2 separate regions of the Homo sapiens genome follow, and region 2 is linked to region 1. The links are contacts of gene promoters, found by promoter capture Hi-C in blood cells and fetal thymus (Javierre and others, 2016). All regions are on one chromosome and are shown on one strand. Each heading gives the region's core, a stretch centred on a gene start or on the middle of the fragment in contact. The rest is flanking DNA. Distances are from core to core; before and after follow the strand shown.

Region 1 (3,434 bases), core at 280-2,779:
AATAAGGTTACTGACAATATGAAATGAATATTTTGGAAAAATCTTATAAAGTATAATACAAAGGCAATTTATCTTGCTGGCAACGTTTCCAAAAATCATTAAAATTTCCCCTTTTCAACTAAGATGACCAAAGTATAAGGAAGAACTCAGGTGGCAAGTTTCAACGCTAACAACTGTTCGGTGTTAAAATGACCAGGATCATAGTTACTCTTGCTCCTGTGCAACTACAGAAGTCCAATTCTCAAAGAATCACAAGAATTTCTACCAATTAAGAAAACATACTGGTAAACAAGTTGACAATCTTTGCTGATTAAAGAATTCCTGCAAAATACTATACTAAGTATACAGTACTGGTTGGAAGGCTAGAGTTAATTCAAACAAATTTAGGGATCAAATAATTCTAATTCGTAGCTATTTTCCTCAATGTCTGAAATCACCAAAAGTGCACTGTGGGCACAATCACTACTTTTCACGTTAACCCAGTACTAGAGTGTTGAAAATTACTTAGATAGCTTTGCATGTTACTGACACACCTTTTAGGTTACTGCTACTCTGAACAGCTAAGCCCTGCCTTGGTAATTACATTTCCAAATCTAACATGCACAGGCTGTATCTTCAGTAGAGAAGAACTGCGCACCACCGAGAACATTAAGCAGCATGGCCATATTCCAGGTATGTAGTAAGGAACAAAAGAATATGATGAATTAAACCTCACACCAAAGGCGGTAAAAACCGAAATCATCCCTTACAGGGCAAAAAAACAGGCCAAACTTTTCTTCCGACATTATTTCAAGTGTTGGTGCTTCCACACACATATTTCCTAACTTAATAACACTGAAGAGATCTCATCTATGGGAATGACAGGCCTGACATCCAGATCCAGCCCTTTCCTCTCGCCCCGTAGAACCCGTACAGCTTCCACCTGGTTAGCACCAGCCTCTAAACTACGTGTCCCAAGCAGGTTCCTCCCCCTTTAGCGGCCAAAGAGAACAAGCTCCCTCAGCAATAGAGTCCTGATCACTGCGCTCAAGACGAAGAAGAAAAGGAGGCACTTTGGAATATTTGTGAAATAAAGCAGCAAAGGAGTCAAATAAGAAAACAGTTTGAAATGGACTCCGGGAGCTGCGGTCTCTTTAAAACCTTCCCTCGCTTCCCGCGGAGGGTAAAAAGAGAAGTACACGTGGCTGTAAGCAACCAGGGACCCCAGGCTGGCCTGGTGAAGCCGAGGAGTGAGACCTGCGTCTTCCGGGCGCTAGGGCCCGAGCCGGGCGGACAATAGACGGGGGGGTTTCGGGGGTCTCCCCTTCCCGTGCCTCCCGCGCGAGGTGGTCTCGCGCGCCGGAAACAGGCCGCATCCTCCAGCCGGCCTGGGCCCGCCCCAGTGCCCACCCCGACACTTACTCTTATTGACGGTCTTGAGAGCGCGCGTGAAGTCGCCGTTCTGGCCATACCGGTTCACTTCACTCCACAGCGCAGGTACTGACACCCCCCCGCTGCCGCCGCTCGCCATCTTGGAGGAGACGAGGGGCGGGGCGGGGAGACCTCTGCCCCGGAACAGGATCTCCGAGGCAGCCAAGAGGAGGAGGAAGTCGATGATTGCTAAGCGTCGCCGAGTTGGGAGTGTCTTCAGCCCTAAGGCAGCATCAGAGATCATAATCTTCTGCTCTCGTGGCAAGAAATTTGTGCGGATAGAGTTGATACACCTCACTTGAAGTTGGCCTGGAGAAAAGAGGCGTCGGACTCCTGGACGGGGTTGGGAAACGGTCACCAGTTTCGGCTCAAAGCAGCCTGTTTCCAGGAGACCGCCATGGTCGAGGCAGCGTCCTGGTCCCACGGTGCGGGGCCGGACGATCATTTATGGGATATAAATAAAAGGACTATGAGGTGGTAAATAAAAGACTACCAACTAGAAGCCATAGGGAGTCATTTGAAGGAGAAATAGGCACGGCTCATCTGTGGTTGAGGGAAAGGGATCTTGAAAGATGATTAGGAGAACTTGGGTTCTGGGGAAAGTGCGGGAAGACATTCTGGCAGAGAAGCAAACGTGAGGAAAGGTAAGAAGGCAAGAATCTCCCATTACAAAGGGTTTGGTGAAACCCTTTGCCTGTCCTTTTCGCTCCCTTCGGGAGCAGTCGGCAATAAGCTGGAAGGGTAATGGGGTGAAAATGCCCGTGGTCAGTTCCCTGGCTCTGCGACTCACTAGATGTCTGACAATAAACAAGTTACTTAGCTTCTGGGAGTCTGTTTTCCCGATTGTGAAATGGGGATACTATATTTGTTCTAGAGATATAAAATATTAGGGTTTGCTTGCGACCGTTAATATCAAGATGTGTTCAGATGTACGAAGGGAATGGATATCTGTTGGGTACACTTGATGTGAGTGATTTTTTTTTTTTTTTGAGACGGGGATCTTGCCGTGTTGCCCAAGCTGGTCTGGAACTCCTGGGCTCAAGCAATCCTCCCACCACAGCCTCCCCAAGTGCTGGGATTACAGGCATGAGCCACCACACCAAGACGATGTGAGTGATTCACTTGATGTGAATGTTGTATTTCATTGAATGGCCTGCTCTTCAGACTCATATCTCGTCATGACCTTTACAACTTCTACTACTTCCTGTGTCCCTCAGGAACCTAGCTTTTTTTTTTTTTTTTTTTTTTTTTTTTTGAGACGTAGTCTAGCTCTGTGACCCAGGATGAACCTCACTGCAATCTCCACCTCCTGGGTTAAAGCGATTCTTTTGCCTCAGCCTCCCAAGTAGCATGAGCCACCACGCCCGGTTAATTTTTGAATTTTTAGTAGAGATGGGGTTTCACTGTGTTGGCCAAGCTGGTCTCAAACTCCTGACCTCAAGTGATCCGCCCTCTCTCAGCCTCCCAAAGTACAGGGATTACAGGCGTAAGCCACCGTGCCCGGCCTTGCTAACTACTTTTTGTCTTTCAGTCTTTCTGGTTATACGTTGAAAGTTACTTTGAGGAAACATTTGATCTTGCAGACTGGGCAGCCTTCTGGTTGCATCCTCTTAGAACAGGGGTCCCCAACCCTTGTACTGGTCTGCAGCCTGTTAGGAACCGGGCGGCACAGCAGTAGGTGATCGGTGGGCCAGTGAGCAGTACCGCCTGAGCTCCTGTCAGATCAGCTGTGATATTAGCTTCTCACAGCTCAAACCCTATTGTGAACTGGGAATGTGAAGGATCTAGGTTGCTCACTCCTTAAGAGAATCTAATGGGAAATGTAATGAGCTTGAATCATACTGAAACCAGCTGTCCAACTCCTGTGGAAAGATTGTCTTCCCTGAAACCGGTCCCTGGTGCCAAAAAGGTTGGGAGACTCCCTATAGGACTCCACTTCTGAGCACTGATAATTAAGGGTTATCTCACTCTGTATGGACTATAGTTCTGAGGCCAAGGAACCATATTTACCTTGCTCACTGCAG
Region 2 (3,320 bases), core at 139-2,638, 530 kb after region 1:
GACAACACTATCACTGAAGTCCAACTGCTATCCCCAAGGCATGTCAGCACAAAAAGCTGAAATAATTGCTCTTATCTGAGTCCTGATATTGGGGAAAGGAAAAAAGCTTAATATCTGTACAGACTCCAAATATGTATTTCTTGTGGTTAAGGCTAATGCTGCAATTTGGAAAGAAAGAGGACTACTAACTAGGAACCACTCGCCTGTAGAGCATGGGCCTGAAATTCTCTAGTTGTTGGAGGCAATACATTTGCCAAAAGCCATTGCTATAATCCATTGTAGAGGGTATCAAAGGCCTTAGCTCCTATAGCACAAGGGAACAAAAAGACGGACAGGTAAGCAAAAGCAGTGGACTTCAAGGCGCAATCTCAAAAAATCTTAGCACTGCTTCCCTTCTATGATTCCCCAGTAGAACCTGAATACACATCACAGGAGGAACGGATTATAAGGGAGCAAGGGGGACAGAAACAAGGATCTTGGTAGTATATGGGATCAAAAGTATATATCCCTCAAGCAGCCCAATGGAAGGTTATTAGAAACCCTGCACAACTGTTTCCAGATGGGGAGAGATGCCACTCTGGCCATAGCAAACAGGGTCTTTATTGGGTCTAACTTAGCCTCAGTAGCTAAGCAGGTCTGTCAAGGCTGCTTGCTGTGTGCATTTAACAATCCAGGAAACAAGATCCCTCCACTAATGGAACCAGTCCAAAGAAGGGGAACTTACCCTGGGGAAGACTGGCATTTGGACTTTACCCATGAGCCAGCTTGCAGATGATACAAGTTTTTTGCTAATACTGATAGATACCTTTACAGGCTAAGTTGAAGCTTACCCTACTAGAGCAGAAAAGGCTAACGAAGGTGTAAAAGTCCTCTTAAAATAAATAATTCCACAGTTTGAGTTATCCCAAAGCCTCCAGAGTGATAACGGCCCATCCTTTGTCTCCCAGATAACTCAAGGGGTGGCTAAGGTGCTCAGAATTAAATACTATTTACGTTCAGCATGGAGACCTTAATCCTCCAGGAAAGTAGAAAGAGCTAATCAAACTCTAAAATGGGCACTAGCTAAACTATGCCAGGAAACATCAGAAACTTTGGTCAGTTTACTACCCGTACCCCTTTTGAGATTCTGTAACTCCTCAAGGGCAAAAGTAAATATGAGCCCATAGGAAATGCTGTGCTGGAGACCCTTCTTAACTAATGATCGAATAACTAATCCAGAAACATCTGGGCTAATAAAATACCTAATTAATCTGAGAAAATTTCAACAAGCATTACAAAGGTTCTGGAATGAAAGGCTTTCCATACGAGGAACTAACCAGCAACCCAAGATTAGGTCAGGAGATAGAGTACTTATTAAAACATGGAAAGAGGGGTCACCTGCTCAGCAGCTACAACCCAATGGAAGGGACCTTTTTAAGTTATAATAACCACCCTCTGCAGTTAACGTGTTAGGATTAAATAGTTGGATACATCTTTCCAGGGTCAAGCCTGCAATACCTAAAGCTCCAGACCTGGAACCCAAAGCTCCCATCAGTCGCTACCCTGTGAACCTGTGGAGGATCTGAAGTACCTGTTTAAAAGGCATCCAAAAGATAGGTAAATCCCTACTGACTTTGCTGGTGTCTTTGTTGCATAGTTACCGTGGAGTAAGTAATCCTAGTTATTTATATATATTTATCATTTAACTGCTTGCTTCCCCCACAATGGAACCACTTTTTATGTCCATAATCCTATTTTCACCAATATTGGGGGTCCAGCTTCAATACCAAGTGTTAAAACAGATTCAACAGTTAGCCACGCTAACTTAACTTCTTGTTACATTTGTACCTCAGGATCACTATCAGCTGAAGTTTTACCATTACCATTAGAAGATATAGTCAAGGTCAATGCCAGAGTCACTGTTGCCACCCAGTCAGAAGTTACATATCCCAGTCCAGCTGTGGAAAGCTTATTCCTAACAGTCTTATCTCAGATCATAAGAAACAACCCAAATTTAAATTTTACAAATGCCCCAAATCCTGTAAGGGTTTTTCACAACCTAACCTCAGACAGCCAATTCCCAATTTGTTTCACTTCCCACCAAACGAATGGGACCTTTCTGGGATCCCTAAACAATTGTTTATATGAGGTTGTCCTCAGTTGGACAAATCAAGAGAAACATTATAATTCCTCAGAAACAAAAATCAATTCATATTGCAAACTAGGAAAATAAAAACAATTCCTCCTCCTTAAGTATCCTGATCCAAGGCGACCTCAATATACAAGTAATACCAATTCTTCCAATATTTCCACTGGTTGGACCACAGTGTTAATCAACAATTCATCTTTGCCTCTAGCTCAAGCTTTGGCTTGGGGGGTCCAAAGATCATTCTTAAAATTCCACCTCGGCTTATCTTTCCACTCTAGGCTTAATGCATAACTTGCTGTGGCTGGAACACTTTTATGGGAACAACTCACTGGAACTTCCTCTAGTGGCTCAGACACACCTTTGGAACTAGCATCATGGGGATATGAAGTATCTTTGGACCCTGGGCAAGAGTTTATTTCATATGTGGAAATTCAGGGTACATGAGTCTTCTGAGCCAATGGAAAGGGACTTGCGGCATCACTGCTTTACTTCCAAGACTGTCTTATGCAAATGCTAGTACAAAATTCCCATTCCATATAAGACACAGCCATGCATTTGTAAAAAGGGCAGTTCCAGCAGTATTACATCCTTTAGCAACTGCAATAACAGGACTTTTAGGAACCACACTTGGGTCCATTTCTCTTCACTTGTCTTCACAACAAACACAGGCTTTGGCAGAAATTACAGCAGCTATCCAAGAACAATGACATATAGATTCCCAGGCAGGCATTGTCTTACAAAACAGGAGGGGGCTAGGTCTCCTCGAAGCTAATCGGAGGGGATTATGCATTTTTCGAAAAGAAGAATGTTGTTTCTATATTAACTCCTCAGGCAAGGTAGTGGGACATCTGACTGAGGCAACTAATATAACCAATTTATGAACTGCACAAAACACCCTAAATTCTGTTTAAACAACTGCAAAAAGTTGGATAGCCCATTTTACAGGACCCTTAACTGTAATTCTTCGGTTGTTCATTTTTGGCCCTTACACTGTAAATTTGCTAACCAGATTTATTTCTTCATGTTTAGAATCTATCAAGCTACAAATGGCTATGTTGCCTGAAGCCCCAGACATCATCCTACAAGAAATAAGTCCAGACTTCTTAATTTCCCCCTGGATAGAGCAGGGTAAGAGTTCTGTGGTCCCCTGTTAGGTGGGGCCAGCAGTCCCACTCAGCTGGAAGCAAGTATA

The links. Contacts are between HindIII fragments. The CHiCAGO score rates a contact against its expected background, and 5 or more counts as called.
Region 2: a contact is called between a fragment that was not itself captured here and the fragment with the promoter of SRP72 in region 1, in 2 of 17 cell types (neutrophils and naive B cells). The highest score is 8.4, in neutrophils.

Annotation. Positions count from the first base shown.
Region 1 is chr4:56,465,712-56,469,145 of GRCh38, reverse strand. SRP72 (signal recognition particle 72) reads right to left here and starts at 1,529. Exons shown (of 19, transcript NM_006947.4): 1 at 1,402-1,529. The coding sequence starts at 1,510. It overlaps LOC124900706 (a long non-coding RNA gene), which reads left to right and starts at 1,588. Exons shown (of 2, transcript XR_007058126.1): 1 at 1,588-2,054. RefSeq lists an enhancer at 1,475-1,684. The HindIII fragment of the contact is 5,513 bases long and covers 1-3,434 here.
Region 2 is chr4:55,938,793-55,942,112 of GRCh38, reverse strand. It overlaps EXOC1-AS1 (EXOC1 antisense RNA 1), which reads left to right. Exons shown (of 5, transcript XR_941069.4): 2 at 1,481-1,596; 3 at 3,158-3,256. Among named protein-coding and RNA genes, the nearest start is that of EXOC1-AS1, 7.6 kb to the left of the region's middle. The HindIII fragment of the contact is 1,122 bases long and covers 828-1,949 here.